4 separate regions of the Homo sapiens genome follow, and regions 1, 2 and 4 are each linked to region 3. The links are contacts of gene promoters, found by promoter capture Hi-C in human tissues and cell types (Jung and others, 2019). All regions are on one chromosome and are shown on one strand. Each heading gives the region's core, a stretch centred on a gene start or on the middle of the fragment in contact. The rest is flanking DNA. Distances are from core to core; before and after follow the strand shown.

Region 1 (2,700 bases), core at 43-2,542, 190 kb after region 3:
GCACGGTCAGGGATCATTCCCTCCTATTGTGAGAAGAGGTACAGGAGGATGAGAACCCGGGCCTGATGAGAAAGGGCAGTGTTCTCGGAATGATGGGTGTAGAAGCCAGGTAATACGATTACAGTTACTGAGGACTTAGGACATGGACCAAGTTGTATTCTAATTGGTTTAAATGCGTTATCTTATTTTGTGAATTTAAATTTTACAATAACCCTAGGAGCCGGGTCTAGTGCTGTGCCTATTTTACAAGGGAAATAGAAGAGAAGATATTATATAACTTGCCAGAGTAAGGAGAAGCTGCATTTCCCTCCTGTTGAAATTGCCTCTGGCCTGGCCCTCTGGCCTGGAGTCTCCCTGCCTTTGCTATGTGTCCAGTCCACACAAGGCCAAACCTGAGTGACCTAGCTGAGCAGAGCTGAAGTCACAGGAAGTGGCATCAGGATCAGAGCCAAGCCAGCCTTCCGGTGGGGTAAAGTGGGGTGATGACAGGAAGCACTTCCCCTGCCTTCCTGGAATTTGCCCTACTCTCTTAATGTTCTGTGACTTGAGGATTTGTCCCTGTTAAACCACAGTTGTCTGGGTCAGGCTGCTCACACCTTGATGCTGAATGAGTAGATTTTAAGAGGGTGTTAAGAGTGTGGAGTCCTCACCTGGAGAGAGGAAAGGAGTCACCGCAGCTTCCCACTTCTGCCTGGCACCCTTGATGTGTGAGTTCCTTCTCTTTTGCATCCGGCCACAGATGAGCTCCCAGGAGGGCCAGGCGCCCTATCAGGCATCTCCACAGATGGCCTCGATGAAGGGCATCGTACCGTTCTCGGTATTCACATGCAGAAGCTGAGGCTCAGACGGGAGGCACGGTCACCGCGGCACTGCCCGGTGTTGCGCAGTGCAACCTGGGGGCCGAGATTGCTGCCAGTCTCACTGCCTGCCCCAGATGAGGCCCTGATGCTCCTCTTCCTGAAGAGTTGAGTGTTGGACTGACTCAAGTCCATTTAAGGCAAAACCCCTCAGGGCCTGTCAGCCCTCGGGACTTGTAAGCCGCAGGGAAACCTTCCCCCTGCCAGGCAGAGGCTCATTAGGAGGCAGACCTTGCAGCTCAGCTGGGAGGAAACTATAGATAGAGCTAGTTGGTATGCCGTGGGGGCAGCCTGGCGTTTTGGCTGGTGTCTCTCATCCCTGCTGGCTTGCCCAGGCTCACACATATCTGGCTCTGTCATTGTGGCTCTAGGTGTCCAGAGGCCCAGGTCACTGACTCCTGGCATCACCACTGACCAGCTGTGTGACTCACGGAGAGCCACATACTCTTGGCCTCCTTTTGTGATTTTGTAGAATGACGGTATTATTACCTGCACAGCCCATTTCATCACGTTGCTAGGAGCTCTCAGTCAGCCAACAAATATGTATACAGCACCTGATATAGGCTAGGCACTGTTCTAGAAGCTGAAGATACAGCAGGAAACAAACAAACAAAAATCCCGGGCCTCATGGAGCTGATATTTTCAAGAAGCATGGGAATTGTTTGAGAGACAGGAGCTTGGATAAAGGGATGGAGTGTTTTAGACAGGAACAGAGCAACATGTGTCCAGCGCTGACTGTACGTGGAGATAGTTTACTTGCACAGCAGCTCCAAAGTGGCTGTGATTTTTCTCAATTTGGAAAGGAGGGGAGTGTCTGAGGGTTAAGCCAGTTGCTCGGGGCAACAGACCTAGTACTTGGAAGAGCTGAGACTGCCAGCCAGGGCTGCTCACCCCACAGCCGAAGGTCTTTTCTGCCCACTTTGCTGCCTCCTAGGTTAGGCCTCTGTCCTGAGCCTTTGTATGCCAGATAAGGTGTTCATTTGGTGGTCTGCAGAAGCCCATTTCATTTTCCCACACCCAATAAGCCTGTTCTCTTGGGTGCCGGCCCCAGAAGTCACAGTCAGCTGGACCGCAGCTTTTGTTGGCCCTGTGCTAAGGGGTTAGGAGCCAAGGCCAGCAGGTGACAAGTGACATCTGCAGTGACTTCAGGCAGCCCAACCAGGGTGGACAGCCACAGAACTGTGAATATGGCTGGGCACGCTGGTTCACGCCTGTAATCCCAGCATTTTGGGAGGCCAAGGTGGGCGGATCACTTGAGGTCAGGAGTTTGAGACCAACCTGGCCACCATGGTGAAACCCCGTCTCTACTAAAAATACAAAAATTAGCCGGATATGATGGCATGCGCCTGTAATCCCAGCTACTCAGGAGGCTGAGGCAGAATTGCTTGAACCCAGGAGGTGGAGGTTGCAGTGAGCCGAGATCGTACCACTGCACTCCAGCTTGGGCGACAGAGCGAGACTCTGTCTCAAAAAAAAAAAAAAAAAAAAAAAAAAAGAACTGTGAATAGAGTAGTCAAAGCCTTATTTGTCTTCTCCCCATGGTCTTCCCCCTGTCTCTGGGCACTATTTCTCTCACCTCCTTCTCTCCCAAAGCTGGAGGTGCAGACTTTGAGCTAATCTGACCCCCAGGCTGCAGCCATCCCTGGAGCCTTAATGGAGGCCAGGCCGAGTTTGCACAGGAATCTCATTCAGTGGTCTCAACCTGGGTTGCAAGTTCAAATCCCCCTGGGGAGCTTTTAACAATTCCCATGCCCAGCTTGCACTCCAGACCAACTGATCATGAATCTCTCGGGTAAGACATTGGTGTCAGTATTTCTAAAGCTTCTTGGGGGGATTCCAAATT
Region 2 (2,700 bases), core at 133-2,632, 250 kb before region 3:
TTTATTCCCTAGGAAATAGTTTTTACAAATGCCTCTGATCATATTTTGCTTCATTAACAAGGGATTTTTTGTTTTGTTTTACACCTCTTTTATTATTATTTTTTTAAATTTTATTTTAGGTTCAAGGGCACGTGTGCAGATTTCTTTTCTTTTTCTTTCCATTTTTTTTGAGATGGAGTCTCACTCTGTAGCCCAGGCTGGAGTCCAGGGGTGCGATCTCAGCTCACTGCAACCTCCACCTCCCGGGTTCAAGCGATTCTCCTGCCTCAGCCTCCTGAGTAGCTGGGATTACAGGCACTCACCACCATGCCCGGCTAATTTTTTTATTTTTAGTAGAGAAAGGGTTTCACCATGTTGGCTAGGATGGTCTTGGACTCCTGACCTCAAGTGATCTGCTGGCCTCGGCCTCTCAAAGTGCTGGGATTACAGGTATGAGTCACTGCACCTGGCTGGATTCCACAGTTTTGTGAGCCTCACACTTCTCCAACCTTCCACCCTCTAGTAGGCCCCAATGTCTGCTGTTTCCTTCTTCGTGTCCATATGTACTCAGTGTTCAGCTCCCACTCATAAGGGAGAACATGCAGTATTTCTTTTTTCTGTTCCTGTGTTAGTTCGCTTAGGAAACAAGGGTTTTATGCATGTGTGTTTGGTGTATGATTGTGTGTGTCTGTGCATCTGTGTTGTGCGTGTGAATGTATGCATTTGGGTCTGTGTGTATGTTTGTAATCTGGGTTTGTGCATGTGCGTGTTTGTATTTGTGTCTGTTGTGTCTATGTGTGTATGTTTGGGTATCTGTGTTTGTGTATGTGTATGTGAATATGTGTGTGTATTTGTGTATGTTTGTATGTCTGTGTTTGTGTATGTGAGTATGTGCGTGTATTTGTATATGTTGTGTCTGTGTGTATGTTTGGGTATCTGTGTTTGTGTATGTGAATATGAGTGTGTATTTGTGTATGTTGTGTCTGTGTGTATGTTTGTATGTGTGTGCTTGTGTATGTGTGTATGTGTGTGCTTGTGTATATGTAAAAGACTGAGTTAAATAATTACTAGGTAGCTTCTGTACTGGAAGGGCTTAAAAAGAAATAATTACTTGGTGATTATCAGAAATAACTTTCATATTAAAGATACACAAAACTCAAAATTTTTTTCAGACTTTACATGTTTTTAAAATCTCCTTCTGCCTCTTACCAAGGATACAGAAATGTATCCCGTGAGGGGCATCTTATTTAAAGTGTATGTTTGGTTTCTCCTCCTGACAGCGTGGCACTGACAAGATGTCTTTTATGAATGATGTGATGGAGAATGGATTTGAAGTCAGCCTGCTTCTCAAACAGAGTTTTGGGGGAAATAAAGGATTCTTTTCAGAGGCTTTGGGAGAAAGTACTTGTAAAAGTGTCCCAGTGGCTGGGCACAGTGGCTCATGCCTGTAATTCCAACATTTTGGGGGGCCGAGGCAGGAGGATCACTTGAGCCCAGGAGCTCAAGACCAGCCTGAGCTGGTCACTACAGGGCAACGTGGTGAGACCCTGTCTCTAAAAAAAAAAAAAAGAAACAAGAAAAGAAAAATAAAATTTGCCCAAGCAATTAAGAGTCCTGTTAATTCAGCAAATAAACATTTTACAGCTCCTTTTCAAGGATTTCCCAGCTCCCGGCATCTTCCTCTCCAGCCTCCTCCCTGCTACCCGGACCTCAGCCTGGCCCCACCTGCCCCACCCTTTGATCTGAGGAGCTCTTGCATTTTTTGGCCTGATTGGGATTATTTTATTAAGCATTTGATCACCTGTGTACAATAACCATCCACCTTCTCCAACTTCTGATATCCTGGAGCACACCTATGTTTCCCAAACATATGCGTTCACACCTTCTTTCATTCATCAAAATTTATTCATTCATCAAAACATATGGCTTGTCAAATATATGCCAGGCATTGTGCTAAGTGAGGCAAAAATAAAAAGCAAAATGCAGTCTTGGCCCTGAATCAAGAAGGGAGCGTGTCAGGAAGTCATTACAGTACTATGTGATAAATCAGGTAAGAGAGGAAGTCCAAAGTGCTATGTTATCTCTATTTGTCAGTGATTCATTCAACGAATCTTTATTGAGTTTATACTAAATATATCAGACCCTGTTCTAGATATTGGAGTGACAAAGGTGAAAAAAACAGATAAATTCCTGCTCTCACGAAACTTACATTCTGAGGAGGGAAGACAGATGATAAGCAACGAAACTTGCACATCTGTATAATCATTTCAGCTATGATAGGTGCTGGGAAGAGAATAAGACAAGGTAGTATAATAGAGAGTTTGGTCCCAAATAACAAGACTTTGCCAGTCCTAGTAATTCTGTCCTCTCGTGATTAACTGGCTCAGGAATAGGCTCATGACTCAATGGAGATGGGCAGCCAGGAGGCCTTTGGACAAAGGATGTCTCTCTGGGGAGGTGATGCTTAACATGACTGAGAAGATCTGTGGGACATTTGAAACGAAGAGCAAGTGCAAAGTTCCAAGCAGGGGGAGCAAGTCTGGGGTGTTCAAAGAACAGTCAGGAAGCCAGTGACTGGGCTGGGGTGCGGTGGTTCACACCTCTAATCCCAGCCCTCTGGGAGGCCGAGGCGGGCAGATCATCTGAGGTCAGGAGTTCAAAACCAGCCTTGGCCAACGCGGTGAAACCCCATCTCTACTAAAAATACAAAAATTAGCCAGG
Region 3 (2,700 bases), core at 43-2,542:
GCCCCAGGCTCACTGTTATGTTCCCCAAGGTGCATCTGTTCTCTCAGGCACCAGCTCCAGGGGTCCCTGAACACTGCCCAGCAACCTCCCCAGTCACCTGAGGGTGGCTGGAGGGGACAAGCTAGTTCAGCCCTCAGGGAGGGCAGGAAGTGGGTGAATTTCTCACTTTATCTCCTTTAATTCTGCATATAGACAGCCCGCCTCTCACCCTACCATAAATAGCTCTTCCTGACAGAAGTAACCAACCCTAAATCTGGCTTCTGTCTCCTGTGTGCATGTACATGTAATGTTTACTACATCTGCGTGTTTCACCAGGACATAAATAGTATTTTTACATGTTTTCAGACTTCATGTAAAGAGATCCTACTGTGTATTTTTTAGAGATTTTATTTCCTCCCCCATTCAGTATGATATCTGTGAGATTCAATCCACACTGGTATATACGTAGCTCTAATTCTGACCGCCTTTTACAGATGAGACACGGGATCGGCAAGGTTACAGGACTTGCCTCGAATCATAGGTCTTGTAGGTGACCGAGACAGAATTTGGACTGTGTGATCCAGAGCCCTCTCTGCTTCTGGATCCTGCTGTCACCCACCTCCTTAGCACCTGCCTCCTACTCCACGTGCCCACGCCCATCCTGCTGCCCTGCTTCCTCTTGTCCTCTCCTTGGCAGGCATGTGAAAGACCGTTTTCACAAAGGTGTTAAGAACTTCCCGGGTTCCCCCACTGAGGGCACATGCATTTGAGGAAGTGCTGGGGAAAGCTCATTGGAGTGGGAAGCCAGGGCTTTGGGTCTGGCTCTACCAGCTGTGTGACCCCAACAAATCCCTCTGAGCCTCACTTTCCTTATCTGTATTATGAGGCTGCTTATAGGGGCCTGTGAATTTTATTAGGCGGGTGCAAAAGTAATTGTGGTTTTTGCCATTTAAAGTAATGTAATACCATGTCAGGGACTCGGGGACTCTGTCACTGACCAGAAAAAGGAGAGGAATTCTGAAATAGCTTCAGCATGAGGAGCAGGGTAAGAGAGCCTGGTGACAGACCCTGGCCAGCACCCCTTCCATCCCAGCCAGCAAGGGCCGTGGCCACACTTACCATGTGCAGCATGTCTGAGGCCGTCGGGGATACCTGGGCCCGGTAGAGGTTGTGCAGCTCCACCATCAAACGTTTCTCCTCATCTGTGAGGGCTCCAACGGGGCCTGTGGTGGCCACCAGCAGTAGCAGTAGCGGCAGCAGAAGCATCAGGAAACTGCAGGAGCCGTGCATGGTGGCCAGCCGTCTCTCCTTCTCCCGTCCAGGGGTCTGGCAGCTGGATTTAAAGTCCTTCCCACACAAGCACCACCCTGGCTGGGGTGGGGCAGTGGGGGCCGTGTTTGAGGCCCAGCCCGACTCACACAATGTCTCAGGGAGGGCTGGGCGCTTTGGGTCCCGACCAGCATCAAGTGCACTCCCCTTGGAGTCCTTGGCAAAAACCTCCTTTCTCTTGGTAACGGGGGCTCAGGCCAAAAGCTGTGTGAGTTCCTAAGTTGTGGACAGATCCTTCAGGGGCAAAATCACAGTAACCTCTGCAGAGCTGTGACTGGTTGCACCCAGGTCACACCCACTGTGTGTTGAAGATAGATAAGAGAAAGGAAACCACAGACCCTACCCACAGAGGAGTGGGCAAGATGAGGAAGCTATAGGCTTTTGAAAGGACAGAGGAAGACCAGATGTATTTGATAAAAGGCTGAGCCAACCTAAATCAGAATCCTGGTTCTGCCCCTTGCTATCTGTGTTTTGGCAGCTTTCTCAAGTGAATCAGTGACAATAATAGTACCTATCTCACAGGACTAGAGGGAAGATTCAATGACATATAATGTATGTAAAGCACCTAGTATGGTGTCTGGCACATAGTAGGCCCTCAGTAACAGTAGACAACCCACTCATGTGGCCTGGGCCTTAGCAGGCTACCAGCCCCCTGTGGAGGCAACATTCTTGCCTGCGGGGGGAGAGGCCAAGGTCTTCCCCACTCTAGCTGTATTCAGGAATAAGGCCTTTCACTATGGCAAAATTTTGGCTTCCAGGTATCCTCTCTGAATGCATGTGCTTGACATGCTCATTTGGAAGTGGGATGCTGGGACCCCTGTGCTCTAACTATGTAGAAATATAATGTGTCTGTTTCTTAAATCAAGAGAGAGCAGAAAAGCAGAAGGTTGAATGAGCTGATGCACCAGGAGCTCTGAGGGGAAGGTATTGGAAGGGAAATAGCCTTAGCAGTCAGGTGCTGGCATTATAATGACCTTGACCTTGCAGGGGCCATGACCGGTTCATGAAGCAGGAAGCTGGAACCAGTACTCTTGAGGACAGCTGGGATCCTTGAAGCCTGCTTCTTCAATGAATAGGGACCTAGAAAAAGTCTACCCACAGGCTTTGGAAGATGACAAGAAAACCTGTCCCTGCCTGAGTCTCCAAGTAAAAATAAAAACAAAACCAAGATGGATTACACACACATACACACACACACACACTTATTAGAATTAATAAAGTCAGCAAAGTTGCAGGATACAAAATTAACACATAGAAATTAGTTGTTTCTATACACTAATAATGAAAAATCCAAAAAGGAAATTAAGAAAACAATTTCATTTATAAAAGCAATGAAAAAGAATAAAAAGAATAAAATTCTTACCAATAAACTTTTTTTTTTTTTTTGAGATG
Region 4 (2,876 bases), core at 107-2,606, 220 kb before region 3:
TTCTGTATGTAAGTATATCTGTTATTTAACCCAGTCTCCTAATAATCCAATCCAGGAGTATCTCTGTTTAGAGATTAGTTTTAGAGGGTGTAATAACTTGCCCAAGGTTTCTAGATAAGTAAGCTCAAGGCTGATTCCCAAGTCAATGCTTTTAACCATTGCTCTCTATATTCCTCTGGCCATGACATTGATCCCCCGCAGACTTATTGGTTATCTGATTCCCTTTCCACGCTAGATGTCAAACTGCCCCTGAGAAGAGATTAAATATGACCTTTCACCCTCCCCCTAAAACTCTTAATCTCTTGCATCCAACAGGAGCACGATCTGTCTTTATTCAGAGATACTTTCTTCTATTCCCCCGCAGCAGTCTCATTAGATGGGGAAACTGCCAGAAACTCACTTCGAGAAAGAGAAGGGTGGGGCTTTGCCTGATTTCGTTAATAGTTTGCGGCAACTTTTAATTATCCAAGTGTCAGCTTTACTGGAAAGGACGAAGCATGCAACCCTCAGGCTCCAAGATGTTGGTAGTGTGTGTATGTTGTGTGGGGGATGGGAGAGATTAGAGAAAAGGGGAACCTCAGAAAATCAGCCCCCCAGAACCAAGACATCCTTCCTTCCTCTTTATAGCCACATGGGGGCTGAGCTGAGGTATGGGATCTAGTCTAAGCTTAAGGGTAGACATACACCAGAACCCAATGAGGAGTGAGGGGTATTATAGTCTGCACCCTCCAGCAACCTCGAGGGTGCATATGGGCCAGTGTCCAAAGGGTGTGTGGATGCATTGAGGGTTGGGAGCATGATGACCCCCAGGGAGGGAGTATTATAACTGTGGATATTTATAAAGAAACAAGAAACCAACATTTACCAATACTTAATATATGAATTGACAATGGCACTCCAGTGTGCTTTCAAAATATCAGGATGTATTCAGGCCACACGTACAAAGTGGATTCATGGGTCTTGCCATCCAGTTTAACTAAACTCACACAAAATGGACAAAGGGCCTATTAAACAGATCCCTGCAAAGAAACCATGGACTAAAAATACTAATTATTCAAGAATAAGCAGTAAGAAAATGGCAGAGCTAACATTTCACCTACTCCCAATATTAGCCCTTTGTCAAACACATCAGAGGGGGAAACCTTAAGTCAAACTCACATTTCTACCCATCCACTATTGTGTGTGTGTGTGTGTGTGTGTGTGTGTGTGTTTTAAGTGGGGTTACCTGTTGCCCAGGCTGGAGTGCAATAGCGTGATCATAACTCACTGCAACCTTGGAGCTCCTGGGTTCAAGCGATCCTCCTGCCTCAGCCTCCTGCATAGGTAGGACTACAGGTGTATGCCACCACGCTCAGCTAATTTTCACTTATTTTTTGTAGACTGGGTCTTATCTGGTCACGACTTTAGTGTCACCACACTGTTCTATTATTTTTTCTATGCTGCATAATAAATTATACTATTGTTAAAGACTAGGCCAGGCGCGGTGGCCCACGCCTGTAATCCCAGCACTTTGGGAGGCCAAGGCAGGCAGATCACTTGAAGTCAGGAGTTCCAAACCAGCCTGGCCAACATGGCGAAACCCCGTATCTACTAATACAAAATTAGCTGGCCTGGTGGCACATGCCTGTAATCCCAACTTCTCGGGAGGCTGAGACAGGATAATCACTTAAAACCCGGGAGGCGGAGCTTGCGATGAGCCTAGATTGCACCACTGCACCCCAGCCTGGGCAACAGAGCGACACTCCATCTCAAAAAAAAAAAAAAAAAGGCTGCGGAGCACGATGGCTCACACCTGTAATCCTAGCACTTTGGGTGGCTGAAGCAGGCGGATCATAAGGTCAAGGAGCTCGAGACCAGCCTGGCCAACATGGTAAAACCCTGTCTCTACTAAAATACAAAAATTAGCTGGGCGTGGCAGCGGGCGCCTGTAATCCCAGCTACTCAGGAGGCTGAGGTAGAACTGCTTGAACCCGGGAAGTGAAAGTTGCAGTGAGCCGAGATCGTGCCACTGGCAGTGGCACGCCAGCTGGTCCAGCCTGGTTGACAGAGACTCAGTCTCGAAAAGAAACTAAACCTCACACTAAAGGTGAAGGAAACTTGAATCAGGAACCGAGAGTAATAGAGGCAATAGTTTTTCAATAAACTTCACGTGTACCAAGGGGACATGCTCAAAATGTTTTACTATCAGTGGCAGACAACTGATAAAAGCTTCAAGGGTTAGTTTGGTAATAGGTATGTATTTGTTATCTCTAGATCAGCCCCATCCAATAGAACTTTCTGCAATGATGTTTTATATGAGGTGGCCACTAGCCATAAATGGCTATTGAACACTTGAAAATTGTCACATCTATCCTATTTGCATAGCTTTAAAATTGTAATCTGGAAAAGGTTATTTTATTAGGCCTCCCATGCCAGATATTGCCCAAATTTTGACAATACTGGTCCTACCCCTTGACCATACATTCGTTTCAGGAAGATGACTATCCTAGAAATCCCAATGTTGAAGGAAGCCAGATTTAGGCTGAGAATTCCTTTCTCCTACAATTCTTTGGCACTTACCAAATGCTCAATAAATGCAGGTTAGCAATGCCTCCGCACAGACGATTAGAAGCCACGAGTTAAGACAAAAGGTTTTTATTCAAAAAACGCCAAGTATAAAAAAAAAAATAAGATCTCTTTTATTCCCCTGTACAGTATTTCACTCAGATAAAACCAGCAGGCTACCTGCTGCTCAAAACACAGCCCCAGAGAGGATCTGGAAGGCACACCATCCAGAACTGCTTTTCATAATTATCCTATATACACAGTCAGCAATGCCCCTCCCCATCACCCACAGAGCCGGGACCCACCTGGGTAAGTAGGTGAGGGGCCCCACA

What was found. The method cuts DNA at HindIII sites, captures the fragments that hold promoters and counts their contacts. A contact is called where the count stands out against the background at its distance.
Region 1: a contact is called between a fragment that was not itself captured here and the fragment with the promoter of PI16 in region 3, in 1 of the 25 tissues and cell types used here (spleen).
Region 2: a fragment that was not itself captured here is called in contact with the fragment with the promoter of PI16 in region 3 in 1 of the 25 tissues and cell types used here (spleen).
Region 4: a contact is called between a fragment that was not itself captured here and the fragment with the promoter of PI16 in region 3, in 5 of the 25 tissues and cell types used here (dorsolateral prefrontal cortex, heart left ventricle, lymphoblastoid cells and 2 more).

Annotation. Positions count from the first base shown.
Region 1 is chr6:36,767,878-36,770,577 of GRCh38, reverse strand. All of the region lies in intron 10 of CPNE5 (copine 5), which reads left to right. Among named protein-coding and RNA genes, the nearest start is that of CPNE5, 70 kb to the left of the region's middle. RefSeq lists an enhancer at 1,379-1,910. The HindIII fragment of the contact is 6,053 bases long and covers 1-2,700 here.
Region 2 is chr6:37,202,353-37,205,052 of GRCh38, reverse strand. No RefSeq gene overlaps it. Among named protein-coding and RNA genes, the nearest start is that of PIM1, 34 kb to the right of the region's middle. The HindIII fragment of the contact is 3,955 bases long and covers 1-2,700 here.
Region 3 is chr6:36,953,330-36,956,029 of GRCh38, reverse strand. PI16 (peptidase inhibitor 16) reads right to left here and starts at 1,292. Exons shown (of 7, transcript NM_153370.3): 1 at 1,099-1,292. The coding sequence starts at 1,269. The HindIII fragment of the contact is 39,732 bases long and covers 1-2,700 here.
Region 4 is chr6:37,175,171-37,178,046 of GRCh38, reverse strand. It overlaps PIM1 (Pim-1 proto-oncogene, serine/threonine kinase), which reads right to left. Exons shown (of 6, transcript NM_002648.4): 6 at 2,619-2,876. Among named protein-coding and RNA genes, the nearest start is that of PIM1, 6.5 kb to the right of the region's middle. The HindIII fragment of the contact is 4,205 bases long and covers 1-2,876 here.